6 separate regions of the Homo sapiens genome follow, and all the other regions are linked to region 1. The links are contacts of gene promoters, found by promoter capture Hi-C in human tissues and cell types (Jung and others, 2019). All regions are on one chromosome and are shown on one strand. The core of a region is centred on a gene start or on the middle of the fragment in contact, and the rest is flanking DNA. Distances in the headings are between cores, read along the strand shown. Region 1 holds the start of COPS8 (COP9 signalosome subunit 8). Region 2 overlaps GBX2-AS1 (GBX2 and ASB18 antisense RNA 1). Region 3 overlaps DRC11 (dynein regulatory complex subunit 11). Region 4 overlaps DRC11 (dynein regulatory complex subunit 11). Region 5 has its middle 29 kb from the start of ACKR3. Region 6 has its middle 8.6 kb from the start of ACKR3.

Evidence for each region. The method cuts DNA at HindIII sites, captures the fragments that hold promoters and counts their contacts. A contact is called where the count stands out against the background at its distance.
Region 2: a fragment that was not itself captured here is called in contact with the fragment with the promoter of COPS8 in region 1 in 1 of the 25 tissues and cell types used here (H1 embryonic stem cells).
Region 3: a fragment that was not itself captured here is called in contact with the fragment with the promoter of COPS8 in region 1 in 3 of the 25 tissues and cell types used here (heart left ventricle, lymphoblastoid cells and mesendoderm cells).
Region 4: a fragment that was not itself captured here is called in contact with the fragment with the promoter of COPS8 in region 1 in 1 of the 25 tissues and cell types used here (dorsolateral prefrontal cortex).
Region 5: a contact is called between a fragment that was not itself captured here and the fragment with the promoter of COPS8 in region 1, in 2 of the 25 tissues and cell types used here (mesendoderm cells and thymus).
Region 6: a fragment that was not itself captured here is called in contact with the fragment with the promoter of COPS8 in region 1 in 1 of the 25 tissues and cell types used here (lymphoblastoid cells).

The regions. Positions count from the first base shown.
Region 1 is chr2:237,082,412-237,087,138 of GRCh38, reverse strand. It overlaps COPS8 (COP9 signalosome subunit 8), which reads right to left and starts at 1,250. Exons shown (of 8, transcript NM_006710.5): 1 at 1,097-1,250; 2 at 1-12. The coding sequence starts at 1,174. It overlaps COPS8-DT (COPS8 divergent transcript), which reads left to right and starts at 1,318. Exons shown (of 3, transcript NR_187934.1): 1 at 1,318-2,983. RefSeq lists enhancers at 415-1,309, 1,120-1,669, 1,310-2,204. The HindIII fragment of the contact is 6,775 bases long and covers 41-4,727 here.
Region 2 is chr2:236,188,211-236,192,937 of GRCh38, reverse strand. The region is part of intron 1 of GBX2-AS1 (GBX2 and ASB18 antisense RNA 1); the gene reads right to left. Among named protein-coding and RNA genes, the nearest start is that of GBX2, 22 kb to the right of the region's middle. The HindIII fragment of the contact is 5,443 bases long and covers 1-4,727 here.
Region 3 is chr2:236,375,116-236,379,842 of GRCh38, reverse strand. DRC11 (dynein regulatory complex subunit 11) reads left to right here. Exons shown (of 19, transcript NM_024726.5): 13 at 2,658-2,740. Among named protein-coding and RNA genes, the nearest start is that of IQCA1-AS1, 14 kb to the left of the region's middle. The HindIII fragment of the contact is 4,498 bases long and covers 1-4,478 here.
Region 4 is chr2:236,411,425-236,416,151 of GRCh38, reverse strand. All of the region lies in intron 8 of DRC11 (dynein regulatory complex subunit 11), which reads left to right. Among named protein-coding and RNA genes, the nearest start is that of IQCA1-AS1, 23 kb to the right of the region's middle. The HindIII fragment of the contact is 3,273 bases long and covers 716-3,988 here.
Region 5 is chr2:236,538,892-236,543,618 of GRCh38, reverse strand. It overlaps a transcript of ACKR3 not described here. Among named protein-coding and RNA genes, the nearest start is that of ACKR3, 29 kb to the left of the region's middle. The HindIII fragment of the contact is 4,922 bases long and covers 1-4,727 here.
Region 6 is chr2:236,558,849-236,563,575 of GRCh38, reverse strand. It overlaps a transcript of ACKR3 not described here. Among named protein-coding and RNA genes, the nearest start is that of ACKR3, 8.6 kb to the left of the region's middle. The HindIII fragment of the contact is 7,257 bases long and covers 1-4,727 here.

The DNA of each region.
Region 1 (4,727 bases), core at 1-2,500:
TCCTCCAGGGGCCTAGAAGGCCAAAAATGAAAACAAAACAAAACAACACAAAATTTTAAAAACCTCATTTACCCTTTAACTTTCATTTTTAAAATAATATTTTATAAATGCTAATTTTAAAAGTAAGCCTTTTTAGTCTAAGACTATAAGTAATCTTATAGTCCTATTATAGATTTAGAAACAGCTTAGAGAAGTATCAAACACGAAAATTCTGAGTATTAAGTTTATATTCGTCATCAGCTTTGATTTATCTCCCTTTGGGCTTCAGTTTCTTTATACATTCAAGAATATGTAAGTGGATCCCCTTCCCCAGTTCTCAAATTCCCATTTAAATGATCTTACTATTATAAGAAACAAATTCGACAGATTCCTGAAGCATTCTGATTCTGCCCATTACATCAAGCGTCCTGAATAAGAGACAGAAAATCACCACAGCTGCGTTGCAAAGACAATTCTTTCCATTTTAACTCAACTGGAAAGTATCTATTATCTATTAGTGAGCTGCTGCTTCTGGATGTTGTCTCCTTTATTTAATTTTAAAACTAATGATATAAACCCTTTTTAAGTGTCTAAGAAAAACATTAACTTTAACAGCTGCATAACTTTCATCTGTCTTACTGAAGACAAAATGGCAAGCTAACTTGACAACATTACGAGAAAGGCTTTGTGAGTTAAAAAAAGGTTACAATGGTCACATTTTTCTTGGTGTGCGTGTGAGTTGCGGTGTGTGTGTTAGTGTGTGTGTGTATACCAAGATCTTTAATAAAACCCACTTTACTACCCTCTCCCAACCCGATACTGGGAAGGAAAGATGCCTAATTAATATGAGCTCATCGGTAGGTGCTGGAGCAAAGACGCACAGGGTTTTCGGGCTCACAAGCTGAAGACACATAACAAAAAGGTCCCGGCGAGTTCGGGGAGACCGGGCCCGGTCGGAGCAGGTTGCGGCGGTCAGGGATCCACACGTCCACCTCCCACGCCCGCCCCGTGAGCTCCCAAAGCCCGCTAGCCTCAGACCCCGTTACCCTGGAAACTGGTGCCGCCCCAGGGCCTAAGACTACTCCGCAGTTTCTCCCAGCGCGACGCAAAGGGTTACCTCGAGCTCCTGGTTCTCGCACTGATCCAGCAACTTTTTGAAACTAAAGGCGCTTTCCGCCATCACCGCCACTGGCATCTTCGCGGCCGGCCTCGCCGCTGCACCGTCCGGACAGCCAAACCCCAGACTGTCCCTCAGGCGTCGCGCCCGCGATGACGTTTAAAGCCGCCGTTGCCGCCGAGCGCCCCTGCGTACCAGACCGTCAGTTCCGGGGCGCCGTCAGACATCGCTGCGGCCGGGATAGGGCGCCGCCGTTCTGGCCGGCTTTCTCGGTGCCCTGGAGGACCTGGCCGGCTCCGCGGGAAGCTGTACTCAGAGCGCGCGGCCGCCCTCTGGCAGGGAGGAGTTCGTTGCACTTTTGAGGGTTCTTCACGAAGACATCCAATACATAGAAAACAAGTAACAGCAACAGTAACGAATTTTTAAATATTAAAATTGCTGGGGAACACGACGGATCCTGCAGCTGCTCGGCTGTCCCGGTCGTCAGTGACGCTAGGGCTCCGCACCGTACCCTGCATACCGTAGGTGCTCACGAAACGTTCGTGAGTTCCCTGCTCTGAGGAAACAAGCTTAAAAACTCAGAATCTAAGGTGTGAGTCTCCGCAAACCTGCTTGTTGGGCAGCGTCCCCCGCCCGGGCTAGCCCTGCACGCCCCACCCCGGAGCCACGCTTCTCCAGCCGGGACCCCTGCCTCCTTCCAGGCTATTCTCGGAACCGCAGCCAGAGGGAATTTTTTTTTCCTTTCCTGAAACGTAGAGCAGATCTGGTTACTCTTCTGCACAACGCCCTAAAATCTAGGGCCCTTCCCATCCCTCAGAATTTACATCTAATTCTCAGCTCCCCTCCGGCTTGCTGTAGCCATCCTGGCTTTTGTTTAGCACAGCACTTACTGTTAGTGACATTATATTGTATATTATTAACATATTTGTGTTTTACATCCCTCACTAGACCCCCAGGAAAGAGGCTTTGATGTGTTGCCTGCTGCAAGGCTGGCTGCATAATTTGTGGAGCTCAGAGAAAAGTGCGGAGCTTCCTTGTTCAAAAAACAGAAAGAAAGTGCCTCTGAGGTCATAAAATATAAAACTTTCTCTTTCCTCTCAGTTTCTCTCTTTTCATAGTGTTTTTATGTGTTATTTAATATCATTCCAAGAAAAATTTAGATTTAAATTGTTAGCATGAAGTTCACCATCCATCTTTACGTTGTGCAATGCCAGTTTTAAATACTAATATAAGTGCACTGATCTCATATGTGGAATCACAGAAATTATGCAATTTGTACTTCATAGCTTATACATGCATATAGATTTTGTTTTTACCAGAACCACGCTGGTAAAAACAGATGCTGCACAAAGTGAACTTGCCCGTTTTCATCGCACTTTACGTGCACGAATTCTACCTCTACTCTCGACCTGGGACTCACCGATGCGTAAGGAAGGACTGAAAAGCAAAAGAACTATGGACTGGCCTTTTGGCATGATCAGGTGTCTAATATAAAGAAGTGCATGAATAAGAAAATATATGATATGAGTGATGGTTAATACTGACTGTCAACTTGATTGGATTGAAGGATGCAAAGTATTGATCCTGGGTGTGTCTGTGAGGGTGTTGCCAAAGGAGATTAACATTTGAGTCAGTGGGCTGGGAAAGTTCGACCCACTGTTAATCTAGATGGACACCATCTAATCAGATGCCAGTGCAGCTAGAAATGTAAAGCAGACAGAAAAATGCGAAAAGAGAGACTGGCCTAGCCTGCCAGCCTACATCTTTCTCCCACGCTGGATGCTTCCTGCCCTCGAACATCAGACTCCAAGTTCTTCAGTTTGGGACTTGGACTGGCTCTCCTTGTTCCTCAGCTTGAAGACTGCCCATTGTGGGACTTGTGATCATGTGAGTTAATACTTAATAAACTCCTCTCTCTCTCTCTATATATATATATATAAATATATATATCCTATTAGTTCTGTCCCTCTAGAGAACCATGACTCATACAATATGGTTTCTTCATGCTTCTTAAGACACCATTGCCTTCTTTCTGCCTTCGAAACAAGTTTACTCTCTTAAGGGGAAAAGTGCGGCCTTTTGGGGTGTCAGCACCCAGCTCCCTCAGTTGTAGATACAGCACGAGTACCTTGTGCTCACTTTGAGTCTTGCTGGCCTCGCAACATCAGGGGTCCACAGGGAATTCAGTGTGCATGGTGCATTATGAATGCTGTATGGAACATCAGTGGCCACACGTAGAGGCCCGTTTCCCTGGCTCATGCTCCATTGTCTTAATGGACCTCACTTACAAACCACAAGTTTACAGATAAAATTATTAAGCATTTCAAGACAGAGACAGCCATCCTTGATTTTTTTTTTTTTTTTGGCGTAATCCACAACATCTCTGTGTGGAAATGATTGTTTAGTAATTCCCTGAATGAAATGTAAAGAAAAAAAAAAACACTTGTGTGTTCCTCAAGGAACTGCCAACATTAAATAGAAGGGCACATAAGTAGTTAGCAGAACTAGAGAGATCTTGGAGTAATAAAGCAACAGAGTTTCATCCACGGCTGCAAGGAAGAGAAGGACTGAGGGCAGTATGATTCTAAGATCACTTGACAGAACTATGAGGAGCAGGATTTTGAAGCTTGTAATAATGGTCTCTAACCCTTTTCGGGCAAAGAAATATTCAATAGAAGCCCTGCTTGGCTATTTGATCATTTAAAGGGAAAACTATAATGTGAACGCTTTGGCAGGTGCTTTGGGCCTCTAAGAGGTGGAAACCTACAAAGGTGGCTGTTTGCTGAATAGGAAATCCCGGTGAGGCTTTTGATACATATCACAGGTTAGAGGTGGAGATGGGGTGTCACTTAAAGGACTAAGCTGTTCTTTGGAAGGCCAGTACAGGAATTTGGGAGTTGGAGCCTGGATGCCAGAGAGGGTAGGAGGAGAGTCCTTGGGGGGCAGAGAGGAGTCTCTGGGAGCAGTTGGGGTCTAAGGTGAGACCCTGGCCTGGACACTGGGAACTCCAAGTGGCAGTGAAGCACTGAAGCGTCTTCAGGGCTGTGATGGTTGACATTCAGTTTTAAGTTGTCACTGTACTGTGCTGGAGCCACCTTTCCCCCCAGACTTTTGATAGTAAATGAGAGAAGTGAAGGGGGACAGGAAAGAGCAGTGTGGTGTAAAAGGCTGTCATCTCCGGAGGTGCGACTCAGAAGAGGGATCGAGACTGGGAAGAAGCAAGAAAGTCAATGAGAGGCACCCACAAGGACCCTCTGTTCCTGGAGATGCTGGCTTTGGAGTGGGAAGGACTGCGTTTCTCTCTGCTCTTGCAACGAGGGATGGGGTCAGCGTGCTGAAGGGAATCATGCACTCCGGAGGCTATAGGATGGGGGTCTCAGACCCATTACCACACCTGGTCTTCTCCTTGTGCAAACTGGCCCTTGTCCCATAACTCTTCTCTGGGAGAAGCACAGTGATTGAGGAGGTTGGAAATTGTACTAGGATGGCTGATGCAGTTTGGATGTTTGTCCCCTCCAAATCTCGTGTTGAAATGTGATCCCCAGTGTTGGAGGAGGACCTCATGGGAGGTGATTGGATCATGGAGATGGATCTTTCACGAATGGCTTAATGCCATCCACTTGGTGATGAG
Region 2 (4,727 bases), core at 1,156-3,655, 900 kb after region 1:
AAAATGGTGCATCTCTCTCCAGTGCACTTATCTGGGATCAGTTAGCCATAGAAAAGCCTGCTTGTCCCATCAGTGTCTGGCTAGGAAGAAAACGTATGTTGGTTCCACGTGCCCAGATATATATATGCCAGAATCTCACTCTGTCACCCAGGCTGGAGTGCAGTGGTGCAATCATAGCTCACTGCAGCCTCGACCTTCTTGGCTCAAGTGATCTCCTGCCTCAGCCTCCCATGTAGCTGGGACTACAGGTGCACACCACTGCACTGGGATCATTTTTTCTATTTTATATAGATGATGGGATCTCGCATGTTGCCCAGGCTCTAATTCCTGGCCTCACGTAATCCTCCTGCCTCTGCCTCCTGAGTAGCTGGAATTGCAGGAGTGAGCCCCCTCCCCCAGCTTACTTTCTCTATTCAGATGCTTTGACATCTGGGGCCTTGCTGACCCAGGAGGAACTGACTGCCCCCCACCCACCAGGCTTAGCTGGTTCTTAGCAACAGTAAACAATTCCACACAAAGCATGCTTTTCCAATGTTAGCCAACCAATCTGGAGCCCAGAGCCCACACCTCAACCACCTCTTATATCCCACTCTTTCTCACATGCCAGACCACTGTCTACTCCAGAGCAAGTGCCACACAACTTGGGAAAGTCCTATGCCCCAGAGTCTGCTGAAATTATCCAAACTAGACAAACTTCAGCCTTGCCCTCTCTTGCCCATTCCTCCCCTGCCTCCTGAAAGACCCTGGGGCTTCCTCATGGGCTGCCCCCATGTCATAGCATACCCTCTCCTCTTAGGAACAATGATCAATAAAACACCTTTTCAATAGCAGTCATCTCCTGATCTGTTGGCCCTATGAGACATCAAATTTTCTATGAATACACTGTATTTTAAAGCAAAGACTCTTCATGTTCATCCTCCAAGGACAAGCAGTGGCTCTCTTTTTTCCATTACAGCCAGCGCAAGGTGCTGCCCCAATGAACCTCAGAGGAGACACTCCCTCTGTATTGGTCTGTTTTGCATCACTCTAAAGGAACAGCTGAGGCCGGGCAATTTATAAAGAAAAGAGGTTTATTCAGCTCACAGTTCTGCAGGCTGTACAAGAAGCATTGTGCCAGCATGTGCTTTTGGTGAGGCCTTTCAAGAAGCTTTTACTCATGGCAGAAAATGAAAGGGAGCCAGTGTGTCACATGGCAAGAGAGGGACAAGGGAGAGCGAAGGAGGTGCTGGGCTTTTTAACAATCAGTTCCCAAGTGTACTAATCCAGCAAGAACTGACTCAATACTGCAGGGAGGTCACCAAGGCCCTGTGACCCAAACGCCTCTCATGAGGCCCTACCTGCAATGCTGGGGATCAAACTTCAACATGGGATTAGGAGGGAACAAATATACAAACCATACCACCCTCCCATTGGTAGAATCTGGAAAGGGAATTCAGACCCCAGCAAATAACTGCAGGGTGAGGTGGGATGTTATATGCACCATAAGTAAAGCCCATCATGGAGTGAAAGGGGGGCCCAGGCAGAGCCCAGGAAGTGAGGATGGACATCATGAAGGAGTTAGCCAGGGTGCACCTTGGTGGACAATCAAGTTTTAACACAGTGGACCTGCCCAGGGAGTGATAAGACAGCATCCCCCAGCTCCATCAGCTGACCCACCTTCACCCACCCTTTGAGATGGACAATTGATCTGTCCTACAAAAGGGCTACGTAAACCCAGCTTCAAGACCCCTCAGATCCCCATCCCAGGCAGATGACTCTCCCCAAGCCTCTCCTACATAGACTTTCAGGAGTTACCACTGCCTCCAAAGGAAAACTTGAATGAAGGCAGGTGTGCAGGGAAGTACAGGGTTCCATGGAGGGATAGTGATTTATCCTCCTGGCTAGGAGGATCCCCATGCTTTGGCAGCTGGAAGGAGGCAAGGCTAGAGAAGGTGGGGGCAGATCAGGAGGTACTTGGCTTCCAGACCAAGTATTCTGAACTTCACTGGACAGGCTGTGAGGAACCACGAAGCAAGTGAGCAGGTTTGGTCTCAGTGGGACTCTAGGAAGATTGCTTTGTCCTGGAAAGGGAAGCAATACACTGGAAGATGAGTAGCAGCCCAAGGTAACACCTTAGAGATAGGTTCAGAGCTTCTCCACTGACCAAGAACAATGACTTAACTGAAATTGGTTCAATTTGCTTACCTGGGAAGTGAACATATCTGCGCCTCTCTCACTTACTTAGGAATTAGTAAGATGTCTGGTGTAAGGCAGGTCTTCACCAAATTTGAAGGGATCTTGTTGAAATGCAGATTCAGACTCTAGAGGTTTGGAGTGGGGCCCAGATTCTGTGGCTCCAAGCATTTGGATGTTTCTGTTAACCTTGGATCCTGATCTGCAGGCCCCACTGAGCAGAGAAACTGCAAAAACCCAGGCCCAGAGCCCAACCCAGAGAAAGAACTTGATAAATGGTTCCTTCTGTTATTAGGATTGTTTTATCATTAGAAAAAGAAAACAGCCCAATATTAAGATAGAGACTGTAAAAAATGGGGAAAAAAATAGCAAATTTTTTTTTTTTTTTTTTTTTTTGAGACAAGGTCTCACTCTGTCACCTAGGCCAGAGTGCAGTGGCTTGAATGTGGCTTACTGCAGCCTCGACCTTCTGCACTCAAGGGATCCTGCTGCCTCAGTCTCCCATGCAGCTGGGACTACAGGTGCACACCATCAATTTTTTTATTTTTTGTAGAGATGGGGTCTCGCTTTGTTGCCCAGACTGGTCTTGAGCTCCTGGGCTCAGTAATCTGCCTGCCTTAGCCTCCCAAAGTGCTGAGATTACAGACATGAATCACCATGCCCAGCCAGCAATGTTATTTAAATAGCAAGGGTAAGAACAGTAAGAAATACAGCCACCATGGCCTCTAAGGAGCACAGTCCTCATTGAATTCTGAAAATGGAAATATGCCTGTCTTCTAAGACTATACCCTCCAGCCACCCCTTCCACCCCACCCTACTATAGAAAACAGTTTGGCTGACTTTCTAAAATTTTAAATATGTATTTAAGAGTCCTGGAAGAAGGCAGAGCTCTTTTAAAACATACTGACGATCGAGACCATCCTGGCTAACATGGCAAAACCCAGTCTCTACTAAAAATACAAAAAATTAGCCTGGCATGGTGGCATATGCTTGTAATCCCAGCTACTCGGGAGGCTGAGGCAGGAGAATCACTTGAATCCGGGAAGTGGAGGTTGCAGTGAGCTGAGATTGCATCACTGCACTCCAGCCTGGGTGACGGAGGGAGACTCCATCTCAAAAAAAAAAAAAAAAAAAAAAAATACTGACTTGGCCAAGCATGGTGGCTCCTGCCTGTAATCCCAGCACTGTGGGAGGCCAAGGCGGGTGGATGACCTGAGGTCAGGAGTTCGAGACCAGCCGCTGACCAACGTGGCAAAACCCCGTCTCTACTAAAAATACAAAAATTAGCTGGACACAGTGGCAGTTGCCTGTAATCCCAGCTCCTTGAGAGGCTGAGGCAGGAGAATCACTTGAACCTGGGTGGTGGAGGTTGCAGTGAGCCGAGACTGCACCACTGTACTCCACCCTGGGTGACAGAGCAAGACTCTGTTTAAATAAATAAATAAATGAAAACATACTGACTTTACACTTCTAAAAATCTAATAAATAATAATCAATTATTAGGTTTCCAAAAGCTTATTTTTCCCCAAATTGCAGCTTAAAAACAGCAACACGATTCTCACAGTGATCCCCAAAGGTCCCCCCATAGCTGCCTGAAGTTTTGCCAACATGGAGGACTTATTTCTTTTTCATTATTTTCACCCCTAAGAATTTTTAAATTCAGATGCTCCGGGGAAGAGTTAATCCATGAAGTTCCTTTGGAATAAACCATTCACTCATTTGTTGATTTATTTTTAATTTTTTTTTTTTTTTTTACATTTTATTGTGGTAAAAAGCACATAATATAAAATTTTCCCGACCGGGTGCGGTGTCTCACACCTGTAATCCCAGCACTTGGGAGGCCAAGGCGGGTGGATCACGAGGTCAGGAGTTCAAGACCAACTTGGCCAAGATGGTGAAACCCCGTCTCTACTGAAAATACAAAAAAAAAAAAAAAAAATTAGCCAGGCGTGGTGGCGGGCACCTGTAATTTAAGCTACTCGGGAGACTCAGGCAGAGAATTGCTTGAACCTGGGAGGTGGAGATTGCAGTGAGCAGAGATCGTGCCACTGCACTCCAGCCTGGGAGACAGAGTGAGACTCCATCTCAAAAAAAAAAAAAAAATTCCTCTTAGCTATCTTAAGTGTACAGTTCAGTAGTGTTAAATAGATTCACACTGCTGTGTAATAGTTCTCTAGAACTTTTTCACATTGAAAAGCAACTCCCTGTTTCCCCTCCCCCCAGCCCTGGCAGCCACCAGTCTACTTACTGCCCATAATTTTGACTGCCCTAAATACCTCCAACTAAATGGAATCATACAATATTTGTCCTTTTGCAGCTGGCTTCTTTGATTCAGCGTAGTGTCCTCAACATTCATTCATGTAGCATGCCACAGGATTTCCTCCTCCTTTTTTTGGAGTCAGGGTCTTACTCTGTCACCCAGGCTGGAGTGCGGTGTCATGAACACAGCTCACAGCAGCCTTGACCTCCTGGGTTCAGCTGATCCTCCTGCCTCAGCCTCCTGAGTAGCTGGGACCACAGGCACACGCCACCGTATCTGGCTAACTAAAAAAAAG
Region 3 (4,727 bases), core at 980-3,479, 710 kb after region 1:
TCCTGTCGCTCCCCTGTTTGGAGGTTCCCTCCCCTCTCCCTTGGTCCTGTCGCTCCCCTGTTTGGGGGTTCCCTCCCCTCTCCCTTGGTCCTGTCGCTCCCCTGTTTGGGGGTTCCCTCCCCTCTCCCTTGGTCCTGTCGCTCCCCTGTTTGGGGGTTCCCTCCCCTCTCCCTTGGTCCTGTCGCTCCCCTGTTTGGGGGTTCCCTCCCCTCTCCCTTGGTCCTGTCGCTCCCCTGTTTGGGGGTTCCCTCCCCTCTCCCTTGGTCCTGTCGCTCCCCTGTTTGGGGGTTCCCTCCCCTCTCCCTTGGTCCTGTCGCTCCCCTGTTTGGGGGTTCCCTCCCCTCTCCCTTGGTCCTGTCGCTCCCCTGTTTGGGGGTTCCCTCCCCTCTCCCTTGGTCCTGTCGCTCCCCTGTTTGGGGGTTCCCTCCCCTCTCCCTTGGTCCTGTCGCTCCCCTGTTTGGGGGTTCCCTCCCCTCTCCCTTGGTCCTGTCGCTCCCCTGTTTGGGGGTTCCCTCCCCTTGGTCCTGTCGCTCCCCTGTTTGGGGGTTCCCTCCCCTTGGTCCTGTCACTCTTCTGTTTGGGGGTTCCCTCCGCTTCCCTTAGTCCTGTCGCTACCCTGTTTGGGGGTTCCTGCTTCTCCCTGTGTCCCAGCATTACTCTCCCCAAACTCTGTTGGAGGGAAGCTCAGTGAGGGAGAAAGCCCTGCCTAGAGCTCTCTGCGGGGGGAAGAGGAGGGCAGAGCACCCAGAGGGGCACTGGGCATCTGTGGCCTCCAGGGAGGCCAGAACACTGCCGCGGCCCTGGCAAGCAGCCCCTGGAAACACAGTCGGGGGAGTGTGGGTTTCTGCTCTCTAGAGAAATGGCTGTCACGGGACATCCATAGGGGGAGGGGCTGCAGGTTTCTCCACTCAAGGCTGCATTGTTTGAGAAGCAGTTCCAGGTCGAGATGCTGTGGCTGACTGCTGCCGAAGAAGCAGCTGGTCAGCGTTTTGAGTCTCAGGTGCCCCAGTTCCTGGGGAGGCACACATCTGTCCATGCGTAAACACCGGCACCTCCTGGGGCAGATTTGGGGGGCAGAGGGGCCTCGGAGTCCCATCCCTTGAGGAGGGTGCAGCCCATGCTCACACACTGTGCCACGGTGTCTTCTAGCTTTTTTTTTTTTTTTTTTGAGACGGAGTCTCGCTGTTTCGCCCAGGCTGGAGAGAACTTGCGCCATCTCAGCTCACTGCAACCTGTGCCTCTGGTGTTCAAGCGATTCTCCTGCCTCAGCCTCCTGAGTAGCTGGGATTACAGTTGCCCACCACCAGGCCCAGCTAATTTTTTTGTATTTTTAGTAGAGATGGGGTTTCACCATGTTGGCCAGCCTGGCTTGAACTCCTGACTTCAAATGATCCGCCCACCCTAGCCTCCCAAAGTGCTAGGATTACAGGTGTGAGCCATCACACCTAGCCTCAGACCTTCTTAATATCATTTGTTCGATTGTTAGAGAATCTTCTTCAAATTTATGTTAATATTTTATGCGTATATTGTTTATATTAAATAAGTATTCAAGTTAAAACACTACAGTTGATACTTCCTTGATATATATGGGTCAAATATTGCTATCCTAAATTCCACTAAATTAAATATTTCTTAACTTTCAGCAGAGGGCATACTACTTTAAATGTTTGATGCAATACAACTCCAGTCATCCAAAGACTAGGGTCATTGGATTAACATTTCCCCGAATAGTATTTGGCTTGGGTCTAACTGATATTCTTGGGTATCTTTTAATCACACTAACTTGGATCACAGGACAGTCAGAAGAACTGTCTAAATAAAGTTGTATTTACAATTCTCAACTTAGAGAAAGACCAGAGTAGGATGGGAGAATAAAGAAGAGGAAAAGACAAAACATCTCGAAGGATTATACTGAATAATATTTGAGTTTAACCTATCTAATTTCTGCAAGCCAAACCCCAGCAAGTATCATTGGGAGTTTCATCCGTTATGTGGGATACTATGTCCATTTTTTTCTCAATTAGTATAAATTACCAATGTGCTGGCTATATGCTCAAGGTCCTTTTAGAGAAGTGGTTTTGACATCTGTAAACACTCTGTAAAGTATAACACCCTCCTAAAAAATCATCACCCTCATTGCTTTAGACGTTTTATCTTCCATATAAGAATTATCTTCAGTATAAGTCTTTGTTCTTTGTAGATGTTTCTTTCAAACAATTGTGCAATTGGGTTAAAAGGAAACATAAATTTCACAAAGGATTAATGATGTACTACAGCTTGAAGATGCTAGCCGAATATATAATTATAGGTCCATTGCATTACTATTATTGGGTAATTTCTAATTCATATTTGTGCCATCATGAAGACTGATGGAAGGGCAGACTGCAGGAGTTAGAGCTGGTCCCAGACGCCCAAAGATATCGTTCTTATTAATGGGAAACATCAGATACACACATGGATGAGTGAAAGTATTGTTTTTAAAAAGCCTAATTTATCCCCAAATTGTAGAAACACTTCAAAAATCCTTTTATTTGCATATGAACAAATGTACTTTGAAATAGATCTGGTTTAAGTTCTCCGCGTATGTGATCATTAACAGAAATACCGCCGATTTCTGTGTGTGTGCCTCTGGAACAGACACTCTGCTTTCTCCCCAGGACCATCGAGTCTCTGTATAAGGAACTGGTGGAAGAAGGATTACTGATCCAGGCTCTGAAAGTCAACCTCTCTGATTACATTGGTGAGTACACAGAGAATAATACATGTATGTGTCACGTGTCACCTCTTGTGTTTTGAAATCCCAGCAGCCGGAAATATGTTTTATTTACATTTTTGTTCAAGCCAAAACCTGGCCGATGGTGGCTCCTGGTAAATGTTTGTTGGATTGAATTGATTCAAATAACCTAAGAGGATGCTGTGGACTAACAGATTCTCTTAATAAAATGGTTGCAGCTCTCTCCCCTAACGTAATAGAAGCAGGTTTTTAACCTACTAGCAAGGTTCCTTGGTGCATTCTTTCTGGCATAATCTGATTTAAGGAAATGGGGAATTGTTAATGATTTCACTTGTAAAAAATGCACCTGGGGCAGCACCTAAGGCCTCCACAACAGAATCCTTACTGGAGGAATTCTTTCCAAAAGATACCTTCCAATAGAGACACAAATATTGGGGAGGAATGAGGTGGGGACATTTGTTATCACAGCCTCACCTAATGGTTTTCTCTAAATTTTTAAAAAACACCATGATGACCTGAAAACACACTTAAAGCTTAAAATTCCTCATAACTGTACTACCGTAATGCAGTTATTAGTTTTACTTTTATGAAGAAATTACCCCCAATGAATGACAACATTCTCCTACATAACCACAGAAGGAAAATCACTCAGAAAATCAAATGCAATACTGTTACCTAATATACAGTGAACCTTCAGCTTTCCCAATTGTCCTGATAATGTCCTGTATAAATACTTGTCTTTCTCCATCCAAAATCCAGCCAAGGATGGTGCAAGTGATTGTTGTGTCTCTTCTGTCTCCCGTAATTCCTTCCGTCAGGAACAGTTTCCCAGCCTTCCGCCATCTTTCACAACACTGACATTTTTGAAGAGTCTGAGCTGTGCACAGACTGTCTCTCAATTGAATGTGTGTCATGGTTTTCTCATTATTCGATTCAGGTTAAACATTTTGACAGGAAAATGATGGTGTCTCCCTGTCAGTGTTTCCCACTGGGGGCACTTAATGCCACTTTGTCCCATCAGTGGTGAGGTTAAGTTTAATCCTGTGGCTTAGGTGCTGTTCCCGGGATTTCTCCACTGTAAAGCATCATCTTTCCCTTTATAATTAATGAACAATCAATCCAAGGGGTGATATTTTGAGGCTGTGGAGATTCTGTTCCCAGCAGCCTCTCAGGCAGCGTTTTAGCACCCACTGATGATTTTGTATCTGCATCAGTTATTGCTGTAGCAGTTGTAAAAGTGGAGATTTTTCTATCATTCCTTCTACATTGAATAGATATCATTCTTCTGTGAGGAAGTGTGGAATCTTTTAAAATTGCGTTATCAGTGTAGACACATGGATTCTTTTTTTATTCAATGTATTATCGTCTGTCCCTATCATTATCCATCCTGGTATTTACATTGACCCAATTTTGGTCTGTGAGGGCAAGAAGGCTGGCATTCTCCTTTGATCAAAGGGTGGTTATTTTAATCCCTTTGCAAGACAGCCTTGTTTTCTTCTTGAGGGCTTAAAGGAGCCCTCACATTTCCTAATAGCATAAGAATTTTGCTGGAATATTTATTAAGATATGTTTTGGGTTTCTATTTATTTTACTTTCTGTGTTTCTTCTTCAAGTGCTGGAGAATTTTCTCCTGTACCTTGATTCTGTTTTGTTAATTCTGTTAATATTTTAAAATGGCTGTTTTTAACAGAACTGTCTCTTATTTATGGTTTGGATTTCTGAACAAAAGATCCTAGTGCCGAGTACAGTGCCTGGCACGTGGTAGATTCTCATTACCTATGTGCGGACTGACTTCTCAACTAATTATTAATTTCTCATCCCTTCTGAACTTTTTCAATGATCTGTCAATTTCCAGGAAGCATCTTTAAGATGCCTAAGATCAAAGTGGGTGGAGTCAGCCGTTTAAGAGTGACTTTGATGTGGTTTAGATCTGTGCGCCCACCAAACCTCATGTAGAATTATAATCCCCAGTACTGGAGACGGGGCCTTGTGG
Region 4 (4,727 bases), core at 1,103-3,602, 670 kb after region 1:
CCAGGGCTGCTTCCCTCCCTCTCTTCCTTCTGGGTGGTGTTCCCAGTAGACCACCTACATCCATCTCCATCTGAGTGTTTCCAGGGAACCCGATCTGGGAGACCACCTAGGGCCCTATTGTTCTGCCTATACCCCAGAAGTTCTAGCTTGTTCTGGAAAAAAAAAGCCCCCTGAATACAGTTAATTTTAAAAATCATACTCTTACTCTGCGAGACAATTTTGAAGAAGTGCCTAAGAATAAAGAGAATTGGAAGCATTCCAATTTTATTCTAAGAATCTCTTCCTCTAAATATGCACAAGGGAGTTTTATACTTGCAAATTAAAAATTCGCTGTTAGTGAAGCTTGTTCCGTGTAAATCTGAAATTACCAGCTACACAATCTGGTCTTTGTTGGGTGAAAGTATTTTATTAACTAGCTATTAAAGAGTCACTTAACGATGAACAGTTTTGAACAAAAAGCAAAGTTTAAGAACATCAGCATTTATGAAATGCTTGCAAATGAAGGGGAAACGCCTTCAGAATCAGAAATGAAGTTTTTCATGAAAAATGCAGATCTGCATAGTGACAATGTGATTATTAAAAGAAGAAATGGTCATCTCTAATAAAAATTGATATATTTAAGTTATGCTGCTACCCTTTCCAGAGACTTTTAAAAGTCTTACTCTGGTATCAACCCTAGAGTACCTCAAACCATTCCTGAGACCAGTTATTCAAATCCTTTTGTGAGAACTGACATTTTGACTTATAGCAAAAGGCACTATAATTCCTCATGGTTAGAGGGCAAGGGAGAAGAGAGAGGAAAATAGTTGTGTCTAACTTGTCTGGACGCTGGCTTATCCCAGCCCTCACAGGGCCCAGCTGCATGATTGTTCTTTCACTATTTTGACAAGACCACATATCAATTGCCAGTTCTATATGCATAATTGGAAAACTTGAAAAGACCTCATGTTTTAATTGAAATATTAATATGTTAGTTGAAATATTCAGATAGGATTAGATAGGATAATCCTATCTGAATATTTCAACTAACCTCTTTAAATGGAAAATAGGTTATTTTCTGAATGTCACACAGGTAGAGAGCTAAAAGCTTTACATGTCCATGAGATCGTTACAAATTAACATAAATATGAAAAAATCTATTATAAGTGCAAAAAAAGTCATGAGAACTGCTGAATGTTTCGGTTGAATTTCACAATGAATCAGTGTTTCTGTGTGAATTTCCAATTTATTGCAGGGCTAGTGGAGTGAGAAAGAGCAGGATTGTCATGGTGGATCTCTGTAATTGTACACAAGACCATTTTAGAATAAAATATCTTGTGATTAATAATCTTGCCTGCATTTGATCTTTTCATCAAGAAACTTGGTGAAACAGTTTAATGTTTAAAATATGAACGTTCGCAGTTCCTTATTTGGATCCATCTGGAGCCCCTCCATACTGAGATACTGAAAGACAGAAGAAAACAGAACATTCTGGGATGTTCGTCTTCAGCTCAGGGCTAGTGGAAGAGAAAACACAAAAGCACAGTAGTCCTGCCCAGTGGCTCACACCTGTAATCCCAGCACTTTGGGAGGCTTGGTCAGGAGGATCACTTGAGGCCAGGAGTTGGCACCCAGCCTGGGCAACACAGCGAGACCCCATCTGTACTAAAAACAAAAAAAGAAGCGCAATAAATACATTCAAATAAGAGGTTCTAAAAATTAGTCTCTCATTCATAGGCAACAAAATGAATCTCTAGGTAAACTTCACACCTTACACAAGTATTAAACTCAAAATCGGTCATGGACTTAAACATAAAACTATGAAGCTTTGAGATTAAAACATAGGAAAAACATCCTCAGAATCTAGAGCTAGGCAAAGAGGTCTTAGACTGGACACCAGAAGCAGGATCCATAAAAGGGAAAATGTATAAATTGGGCCTCATCAAAATCAGAAACTGTTGCTCTCTGAAAGACCCAGTGAAGAGGATGAAAAAAAAGCTATGGATGGGAGAAAATATTTGCAAACTATCTATCTGAAAAGGATTAGCACCTAGAATATATACAGAACTCTCAAAAAAAATAGTCTTTCTTTTGAGTTCTCAGTTTTAAATCCAGAATTGTTGTGGACTGCAGTTAAGGAATGCTCTGTGGAAAGCACTTTAACAGAAGACAATGCTAGTGCCAGGAGGACATTTTCTGCTAACTGATAGCAGTCCTGCAAAGGTGCTTTCAATACCAAAGTAATCGCCTTTGTCTCACAGTTGTGTGGCCCTCACATTGGCTTTAGAAACAAAAGTCGCAGTAATAGAGCACTATGCAATCATCCTTACAACTGTTTCCTCTGTTATTTTTCAAGCCACATGTTAGACCATTTGGAATGATTTAAAGTGGTATTGACCTGTCATAACATGATCACATGAACATTAATGAGTCTTCTCTAAATGCACTCCAGCCTCAAAATGCTTTAACTTAGTGCTAACTTCTTCTGGAAAGACCCTTGGACCTTTATACAGCACAATTCACATTGAAAACATTTGTTTATCTGCAGTGCCAGCAGACCTAACTCTGACCACAGCTCCTCCTCTCCAATCCCTTGGCCCAAAGAGGTGCTCCAAATTGAACCATTAAGCCAACCACATTCTTAGGTTATTTTAGAACATTTCAAACCAAATTTTGCATGACTTTACAAAAATGGACAAGTGAATGTCATGCATTTCCAAAGGAAGTTATCAGGAATGAGGGTGCCATCAAGGAAATGTATGTCTGGAGCATCTTCTGTGCCCACTGAAATACAATAAGAGAAGAAGATGGAAAGAAGTGAGAGGTTGGCTTGTGGGTGACAGAGATAATAGAGTCCTTAGCCTAGGGAACAGGGACCCCATGGTTAAACACCCTGCAGTTGTTTGTAAACTTTCATGGGAAGGAACATTCTCTGGGGAAAAGGTGTGTGGACTTTCTTCATGTTTTCAAGAGGTCCCTTTTATAAAAAGCTCAAAAATCACTGCTTAGAGAAAGGATATATTTGGTTACACAGGCAAAGGGCCAATGGAGGCACTGCAGACTCAAAGGAGAGTGATGATCTTAGGCACCAGAGTGGCAGGGGAGGCTTCATGAGGGATATGGAATGGCAGGAGACTCTTTCAGGAGCCTACGCTCACAGCCCAAGTCTGCCCACATCTCCCCATCTCCACGGCAACCACCTGACCAAGAGGCATCATTGCCTCTCACAGCTGCAACTATACCAGCCTCCCAGCCAGTGCCCCCACCTCCTCTCCTGCCATTCTACAGCCTATTCCCCTACAGCAGCTAGAGTGACCCAAACTCTGATCGGCATCTCTGACAGCTCTTGGAACTCAAGAGCTATGCAGTAATTATTTTTGAAGACATGAATAAATGCTCAGATGAAGATCTGCCCTTGGGTGAAAGTACTGGATATAAAAAGATGAAATAGACGCAAGAGACATCTCGAAGGATGCAAGAGATACCACAAAGGATGACTTGCCTGGCTGACAGCGTGTGGAAGAAACAGGAGACCAAGGAATTGAAGTGAACTCCAGGTATCTTGAGTGGAACAGAGGTAAGATTAAGAACAGATGGACCGGCTGGCTTTAGAGCTATTGAGTCAAACCATTGTCTATGGTTCAACAGCTGGAAGTTCAGGACAAACTCAGGAGAGATAAAGACCAGTGGTGCGGATCAGGACATATCCCTGCACAGGAAAACTCTAGTTGAAGGTGGGGCACGGATGAGGTATAGGAAAATTCATGTGAATGGAGGCTGGAGAATCTGGATTACAGCCACATATTGAGGCAGCAGGAAGAGCTAAAACCAACTGGGGGATGGGAACAGCATGGAAGGCAGGAAGAAATCCAGCACCATGAACTTCCTATATAGTCTTCCAACTGGGAATTTCTGGAAGGATAAAAGGAAGGTTTTCTTTCTGCCTCCTGAGTCCCTCTGCCATGAGAAGTGAGAATTGGCTGGGCGCAGTGGCCCACGCCTATAATCCAGCACTTGGGGAGGCCATGATGGAAGGATCACTTGAATCCAGAAGTTCGAGACCAGCCTGGGCAACATAGGGAGACCCCCATCCCTACAAACAATTTTTTTTTCTTTTTTTTTTATTATTATACTTTAAGTTTTAGGGTACATATGCACAATGTGCAGGTTAGTTACATATGTATACATGTGGCATGCTGGTGCGCTGCACCCACTAACTCGTCATCTAGCATTAGGTATATCTCCCAATGCTATCCCTCCCCCCTCCCCCCACCCCACAACAGTCCCCAGAGTGTGATGTTCCCCTTCCTCTGTCCATGTGTTCTCATTGTTCAATTCCCACCTATGAGTGAGAATATGCGGTGTTTGGTTTTTTGTTCTTGCGATAGTTTACTGAGAATGATGATTTCCAATTTCATCCATGTCCCTACAAAGGACATGAACTCATCATTTTTTATGGCTGCATAGTATTCCATGGTGTATATGTGCCACATTTTCTTAATCCAGTCTATCATTGTTGGACATTTGGGTTGGTTCCAAGTCTTTGCTATTGTGAATAATGCCACAATAAACATACATGTGCATGTGTCTTTATAGCAGCATGATTTATAATCCTTTGGGTATATACCCAGTAATGGGATGGCTGGGTCAAATGGTATTTCTAGTTCTAGATCCCTGAGAAATTGCCACACTGACTTCCACAATGGTTGAACTAGTTTACAGTCCCACCAACAGTGTAAAAGTGTTCC
Region 5 (4,727 bases), core at 1,092-3,591, 540 kb after region 1:
CACTCTGGAGGGTGAGGGCTTCATCTCTTTACCCATGGTATACATTTATCCATCCACTCCCCTGGGGGTGGGATTGGGACTCACGACATATCAATAACTCTCTCCAAAATCTTCTTTTTATCTCCAAGCCTTTTTCTATACTCTCAGTGTGGGTAAAGGGTTAAGAGTAATAAAGCTGCCTGTTTTCTTCACCACCTCCTGCAGAGTGGCCTCAAACTTTGCTTTGGAACATAGCAGTCATTTTCTTGGGGATCCTCTGAAGCTGAGCAAAATGATTCCACTTTTATATCCTGCTCCATATCATTTCCACAGGTCCACAAAACGTGAGCCCCATCCTCCCAGATGGGTGCCTGCCACTGATCCACATCCCCTGAGTCCAAGAGAGATCCCCAGAGGCAAGTGGGTCTCCTTCTCACCTTCACCTCTCTCTGTCCAAAGCAACCTCATTTTCCTTGTCTGCTAGAATAACTCTCACTCATTTGCTTTGAAAATATATGTCCAAGTAGCACCTCACCTGGGAAGATTCCCTGATTTCTTCCTAAGTTCGGTAAAGCATTGATTGCACCCAACTGTCATTGCTTTATTTCCCAGTCTTCCACAATGAATTTGTAGTCCTGGAGGGCAAGAGCCACATTCTTTGTAGCCTTGACATTTATCACAGGGCCCGCATATAGAATGTATTGTACAAGTAGTAACTAATGGATGCTGTTTAGAACAAAATCTGTACCACTCCTTCCTAACCCAAAACATGTGTAAATAGGATTATAAGATTCATGCTGCCAATTTGGTTTGATGGTATAAAAGACCCAAGAGATAGTCCACATGCTGTCGGATAATTATTGAGTCAAAGCTATTTGGAAAATTTTCCAACTTGTTTTTTTAGGCAGTGTGCCTCTACATAAAGAGGGGTAGTAATTTTGAAGAGAGGGGGTCCCAGTCTCCTGCAATTGCTGGTGTAAATGAGTGGCACAAAGGCAGACACAGATGGGGACATACAGCCCAGGGCGCCCACCACTGGCCACGCCGTCTCCTGGACGGACCTCTGGAGACTGGTTATGAGGTTGTTCTTAGCTGGATTCCATCATAATGCTCTACATGATATTGCAAATTAATACAGTGTCCCCAGGCAAGTCTGTCTACAGCAGGGAGATGTCGGTCCCTAAAATGACTGCCTCAGTCAGGATGAGCCCTTCCTCTTCCCACACAGCAACAGCACATTATGAAAAGTCAACTGCTACCTTGCCTCCCTACCAGCAGAAAGGTCATGTCCAGTGATGTGCTGGTGTTTAACAATCTGCTCCTTGAGGGGGAAAAAAGCTTTAATTTTTAGCTCTTGCCAATGTCTATAGCGTAAAAACTCCCATCTTGGCTGATTGGAAAATATCAACATGATGTCACTGAACATGGGCTTGGGAAGAGACAGTGCAATCTGTCTCTTGTTAGGCCCTAAATTTTCATCACCAAGAGGTCCATCACTAAGGTGGAGGCACATCTCCCTGCTGTAGACAGACTTGACTGAGCATACTGTATTAACTTGCAGTAGCATACAGAGCATTATGGTGGCATCCAGCTGAATTTGTAGATTGTTTATGTGTTGTTTTAGTTCGTTCTCATGCTGCTAATAAAGACATACTCAAGACTGTGTAATTTATAAGGAAAAAAAAAAGAGGTTTAATAGACTCACAGTTCCACATGGCTGGAGAGGCCTCACAATCATGGCAGAAGGTGAAAGAGGAGCAAAGTCACATCTTACGTGGTGGCAGACAACAGAGCATGTGCAGGGGAACTCCCATTTATAAAACCATCAGATCTTATGAGACTTATTCACTACCAGGAGAACAGTATGGAGTAAACTACCACCATAATTCAATTATCTCCACCTGGCCCCACCCTTGACATTGGGATTATTACAATTCAAGGTGAGATTTGGGTGGGGACACAGCCAAACCATATCATTTTTATACCCACTATACAGGCGTTAAGTGTACGTGGTCCCTGCTGTGTACGTGGTTCTGTGCTAAGTCAAACAAAACACGGAGCAGCAGGTCTGTGCTAGGACACAGGCAACCCGTTACTCTCAATAAAGTACCAAATAAGAAGTACTGACCCTTGGGAGATTTTCTTTATAATAATATGACTCAATCATTTTGACTTAGATGCACATTTCTGAGAAGGAGAGAAAGAGGTGGAATCCCAGTTCTTGGACAGGGGAATTCTTTAGAAACTTGAATAAGGCTATGGGAGTGTGTCAGACGAGGGATGTTTCATGAACCACACGTTCTTTGGTATTTAAAAAAGGCTGAAATTCCTGGTATTAACACATAACCACTGGCATTTGTCTGTTGTGGTAACATTTTTGGAGCAAAAGTAGAAAAAGACTGAAAGTTAAGAAATTAGAAATGCAAAGTAAGCTTTATTTTTAAGAACTTTCAACAACTTATACTTTTATAATCTTATACGATTATTGCAGAGAGGAAGGGAAAATACATGTTTTCTACAGTGATATCAGGTAAGGATAGCCAGTCAATGCTTTTTTATAGATTAGCCCAGAGACAGGGTCAGAAACAGATCCAAGCCACTACAGGTACCAATGTAAAAATGTAGAGATGCTAGCAAGGAGCTGTGCAGTAAGATGTCCCCAGTTGTCTTGGCTTGGATTCTGCCAGAAAGTGGAGTAATCTATAACAGGTATTTGGGTACAAGTGATTTAAATACTTACTATAAAGTTACAATAATCACGACTGTGTGCTATTGTGTAAAGACAGATGTGCAAATTCATGGAGCAGGATAGACCCTAGAAACAGGCACACACATACATGATTGATCAATTTCCCACAAAGACACCAATGCGATCAATGAGGAAAGGGTGGTCTCTTCAGTAAATGGAGGAAAAATGTGGATAACCACGTGAGGAAAAAAATGAACCTCAACCCTTATTTTGCACCACACATTAAATTCATTCCAAATGGATCCTAGATGTAAATGTAAAAGATTAAATTATATAACTTATATAAGGAAATAAATGTTCTGTGACCTTGAGGCAGGAAGATTTCTTAGAACATGAAAAACACTAAACATTAATGTAAAAAATGACAAATTTGAGTTAATCAAAGTAAAACCTGCTGCTTTTCAAAAGACACCTATAAAAATGAAGAGGCAAGTCAGAGACTGGAGAAAGATATCTGCAAAGGGCTGGTGTCCAGAATATAGAAAGAACCCGTATAACTCAATAAGAAGACACATAACCTAACAAAAAAAAAAACAGACAAAAGACGAACACAAAATTTATTTACATACATGAATGGTCATTAAGCAAATGAAAAGATTTTCAACTGAATTATCATCAGAGAAACACAAATTAGAACCACAATTCTTAGACACTATTTTACAATTACTACAATAACTAAATAAAAACACAGACAACGTCGAGTGTTGGCAAGAATGAGGAACAAGTGGAATACTCACATATTGCTGGCCACAGTGTAAAATGGTACAGCCATTTTGGAAAACTGTTTTGCAGTTTCCTATAAAGTTAAATGTACACTTACTATATGATACAGTTGGCTGTGTCCCCACCCAAATCTCACCTTGAAATGTAATAATCCTCCTGTGTCAAGGACGGGGCAAGGTGGAGATAGTTGAATCATGGGAGCAGTTTTCCCCATTCTGTTCTCATGGTAGTGAATAAATCTCATGAGATCTGATGGTTTTATAAATGGGAGTTCCCCTGCACATGCTCTCTTGCCTGTTGCCATGTAAGACGTCCCTTTGCATCTCCTTTGCCTTCCTCCATGATTGTAAGGCCTCTCCAGCCATGTAGAACTGTGAGTCAGTTAAATCTCTTTCCTTTATAAATTACCCAGTCTCAGAAATGTCTTTATTAGCATCATGAGAACAGACTAATACAATATAAGATCCAGCAATTATACTATTAGGTATTTACCCAAGAAAAATGAAAATAATGGCTGGATGTGGTGGCTCATGCCTGTAATTCCAGCACTTTGGGAGGCCAAGGCGGATGCTCATGCCTATAATCCTAGCATTTTGGGAGGCTGAGGCAGGTGGATCACTTGAGGTTAGGAGTTCGAGACCAGCCAGGGCAACATGGTGAAACCCTACCTCTACTAAAAATACAAAAACTAGCCAGGCGTGGTAGTGAACACCTGTAATCCCAGCTGCTAGGGAGGCTGAGGCAGGAGAATTGCTTGAACCCAGGAGGCAGAGGTTCCAGTGAGCCGAGATCGCACCACTGCACTCCAGCCTGGGTGACAGAGTGAGACTCTGTCTAAAAAACAAAAAAAAAAAAAAAAAAGAAAAGAAAAATGAAAATAATGTTTACACAAAGAGAGAGAGAGAGAGAGAGACACACACACACACACAAATGTGTCTATCAAAACTCATAGAAGTATTATTCACAATAGACAAGAACTGGAAACAACCCAAAGGCCCATCCAGACGTGATAATAAACTGTAGTATTTTCTTACAGTAGAATACTACTCAATAATAAAAAGGAACAAACTACAATAGAGGCAGCAACAGGGATGAATCTCAAAATAATATACCAAGTAAAAGAAGCAAGACACAAAAGAAGGCATACTGCATCATTCCAGCTACATGAAGTCCTAGAACCTGAGAGCACAATCTATAGCCCTGACCAGAAAGGTGAGCCAACACAGCCTGTCCGCGCCTACTTTGCCCTGAGCTAGAGTATCCAGGCTTAGCAAAT
Region 6 (4,727 bases), core at 911-3,410, 520 kb after region 1:
TTTCTGGCCTGTTATGTGGCCACCTCCTTATTATTTTGATGCAGGCTTAAATATAATTGCTTTAGAAAACCTTCTTTCGACATTCTAACCAAAGAATCTTCCCATCCTAGTTACTCTCTTCTTATCCTATTTTTTCGTGGCACTTACTACTATCCAAAGGTATCAGTGCACTATCTATCTTCTCCCCAACTGGAGTATAAATCCCTAGAGGGCAAGAACATTGCTATTCTATTCAATGCTGCATCCCTGCTTCCACACACTGTGCTTGGCGCGTGCCGGATGCCCATAAATATTGACTAAATGAATAAAGTCAGGTGAATGACACTTGTGAATCAGGTTTTTGTCCTCTCCCTATTTTGCCCACCTGCTTCATCATGGAAATATGGGAGTAGGGCAGGGGGACAGTATCCAGGGTAAATGTTTTAGGAAAACTTAACACATATACTTTGAAAATTGGAAGTACTTCACACCTAGGAATATGCAGATACACATATGAAACCAATACACTTATGAAAAGGCTGGGCAACTTCCTTAGTTATTGGGGAAATACAAACTGTAGTCACAATGCCATCCAACTGCACACCAACCAGAAGGGCTTACATGAAAATTACTGAATGTGAACAAGGATGTGGAACCACCAGAATTCTCATGCACCAGTGCTTCTCCAGCGCTACATGGTGACAGACCAGCCTTTCTTTCCTTTTAAATTTCCGTTGCAGACCAAAACACATGGTCCCCATTGCACGTGAAGCTCCTCCCACACCCGCCTCATAATGCAAGTGTGACAGTATCCAAACTGGTCAATGCACTGCTGGACGAGAAGAGCCTATGTATTTGTATGTCAAAGCAACATCAAATTTCTATAAAAGTTTCTAAATGCTGACGCTTAATTTCTGAACTTATCTCGTTGCAGTCTAATAACAAATAGCTCATAGTCCACACTCTGAGGGACACTGCTGTCCCTGGAGGTAGGAATGTGAATTGGCATGTCCACTTTGGCAGTATTCACTAAAGTTGAACATACTCTTACCTTGTGACCCAGAAACTTCACTGCAAGGTACATGCCCAACTTCAAGTTGTATACATTGCACCAGAAGAAATACTCAAAAATGTTTACAGCAGGACTATTTATGAGAGACCCAAACTGAAAATAACTGAACATTACTAGAAAACATTATAGACCAATATCCTTCATAAAGAGAGACATAAAACCCTTTTAAAAATAAAAAAGCAAAGCAAATCCAACATATGTACGATATACTGTGACTAAGTGGGATTTATACCTGAAATGCAAAATAGGTTTAACATTTGAAAATAGTATAACTTGCTAAATTAATAAAATAAAGCATTTGACAAAATTCAAAATCAATTCATGATAACAACTTCACGTGCACTAAAAATAGAATGATTTTGATTTGACTTACTTCCCCAATTTGATATTCGACATGTATGAATTTGACGTAGGCCTCATATGAATACTTAGAGCCAACATCATACTCAGTGGTTGAACACTTCACTTCTAAAATGGAGAACAAAGCAAGGATATTCATTTTCACCATTTCCCTTCAACAGTGTACTAGAATCTCTAGCTAATGCACAAGGAAGAAGAAAAGAAATAAAAGCCATATGGATTGGAAAGAAAGATGTAAAACAACTTTTATTATCAGTTGACAGGATTATTTATGCAGCAAATCCTGATGAGTGTACAAAACAACTTCAAAAACTAATAAGCCAATTTAGAAAATCCGAACAATACAAACTCAGTATACAAAAGTCAGTCATGCGGCCAGGTGCAGTGGCTCACGCCTGTAATCCCAGCACTTTGGGAGGCCAAGGTGAGTGGATCACCAGAGATCAGGGGTTTGAGACCAGCCTGGCCAACATGGTGAAACCCCATCTCTACTAAAAATACAAAAATTAGCCAGGCATGGTGGCACACACCTGTAATCCCAGCTACTCAGGAGGCTGAGGCAGGAGAATCGCTTGAACCCAGGAGGCGGAGGTCGTGCCACTGCACTCCAGCCCGGGCAACAGAATGAGACTCCGTCTCAAAAAAAAAAAAAGTCAATTGTGTTTGTATATATCACCTTGAAACACATAAAATTCATAGGAATAGATTTAACAAACGACAGTCATGACCTCTAAACTGAAAACAACAAAAATAGTACCGAGGGAAATTAAAGAAAAATAAAATAAATGGAGAAGGATCTTGTTCATGGATTGGGAGACTCACTTGTGTTGTTATTTTCTTTCCATACTCTTCTTTTTTTAGATTTTATTTTAATGTGGTAAGAACACTTAAAAGGAGATCTACCCTCTCAACAAATTTTTAAGTGTACAATATATTATTGTTGACTAGATATAATGTTATACATTTATACATCAAAACTTTATGCTTACTGATTAGTAATTCCCATCCCCCAAACTCTCGCCTCTAGTAACCATCATTCCACTCTTTGATTCTATGAGATTCACTATTTTAGCTACCTCATATACATGGAATCATGGAGTATTTGTCTTTCTGTGACAGGCTTCTCTCACTTAGCAAAATGTCAAGTTTCATTCATGTTGTCACGTATATCAGAATTTCCTTCTTTATTAAGACGGAGTAATATTTTGTTGTATGTATATACCACATTTCCTTTATCCATTCACCTGACAAAGGACATTTAGGCTGTTTCCTTACCTTGGATACTGTGAATAGTGCTTTAATGAACTGAGAAGTGTTTGTATCTCCTCAGGACCCCAGTTTCAAGTCTTTTGGATAAATACCCAGATCTGAAGCTGTAAAACTCCTAGAAGGAAACAAAGGGGAGAAGCTTCATGACATTGATTTTGGCAATGACATCAGAAGCACGGGCAGCGAAAGACAAAATAAACAACTGAGATTATATCAAACTAAAAACCTGCACAGCAAAGGAAACAATCAATGGAGTAAAAAGGCAACCTATGGAATGGGGGGAAATATGTGCAAACCATTTATCTGGTAAAGGGTTAATCTCTAAAATATATAAGAAACTCCTACAACTCGACAGGGAAAAAAAGAACAATAGTCTAATTTAAAAACGGGCTAAGGACTTGAATAGACATTTCTCCAAAGAAGACATGCCTATGTCAAATCAGCATATGAAAAAAGATCATCGAACTCAAGACTAATGGCTGAATGTCACTAGTCATCAGGAAAATGTAAATCAAAATCACAATGAAATATCACCTCACACCTATCAGGATGGCCTTTACAAAAAAAAAAAAAAAAAAAGGCAACAAGTGCTGGTGAGGACGTGGAGAAATTGGGACCCTTACACACTGTTGGCAGGGGTGCAAAATGGTGCAGCCACTATGGGACACTATATGGGGCTCCTCAAAAAAAATTAAAAATAGAACTACCATATAATCCAGCAATCCCACTTCTGGATATGTATTCAAAAGATTTGAAATAAATGTTGTTAATGTCAGTGCTCTCCCAAATTGCTCCATAGATTCAATGTAGTCCTAATCAAAATCCCAGAAATTTCTTTTTGTCATAATTGGCAAGTTGATTTTAAATTTTATTGAAATGCAAAGAACCTAAAAATAGCTAACACTCTCTTGAAATGGAAAGTGTTGAAAGACTCACAGTTTGCAATTTCATGACTTATTATAAAGCTATATTAATGGACCTAGTGTGGTATTTTCAATAGGACAAACGGAGCAAGGAAACAAAATAGAGAGTCCAAAAATAGACTCACACACTATGGTCAATTGTTGTTTGACAAAAACACCATGTGACGGTTGAAGGACAGTCATATTAATCTGTGGTGCCGGAAATCAAATAGTCATCTCTAGAGGTGGGGACAGACTGGAAGGGAATTTTCTGGGGGTGCTGGAAATGTTTTGTGTTCCCACTGGAGGAGTGGTTATGTGGGTATACACATTTATCAAAGGACATCAACTGTACAGTTAAGATCTGTGCTTTTCATTAAATTTTACCCCAATAAAAAAAGCAAGTTGCAGAATGTTCAGATAAAGTGATACTATTTAGGTACAGTTCTAAGCACTCAAAGCAAAGCACATATTGTTTGTAGAGCTATACAAAAAACCACAGATGGAAGAAAGGCTATGTACCAACTTGAGGACAGAGGTTACCCTGGGGCAGGCAGAGAGAGGGAAATGAGATGGAGGGAAATACATAGGAATATTTTCAACGTCTCTACAATATTTTTATTTTTTAGGCAAAAATATTCACAATTGTTAGACCTTATTGGTGAGTACATAGGCATACTTTATATTACTTGCTGTTACCTATATTTGAAATTTTTCATTCTCAGCTTTCGCTTTCTTAAGAAAAGAAAAAACCCCGAATAGAAAGTTCTGAGTGAAGCATTACTTTCTCTACTTTCACTTCATTGTAAAGTTTGACACAGAAAAGAATTTTTCTGATCTCTGAGTAAGGCCAGGAAACTTTTGCCATGAGAGTATATCAAAGCACAGAGGGCCTAATGGGCTACTAAACACATAGGGTCAAACCCAGGTCACATTTTTATGAAAAGTTGGTAACATTCTGAAGTATTGTGATTTCACACTCCTCAAACATCAATATATAGATTTTAGCTTCAAAACATAAAAATGATTCAGCTTAAAAATATCTAAGTCCTGCAGGGAATTAAAGAATAAATATCTCAATATATCTACTACAATTATTTGGGTTGATCATGGTTTTAAGATTTAAATTTTATATATGCTAATAG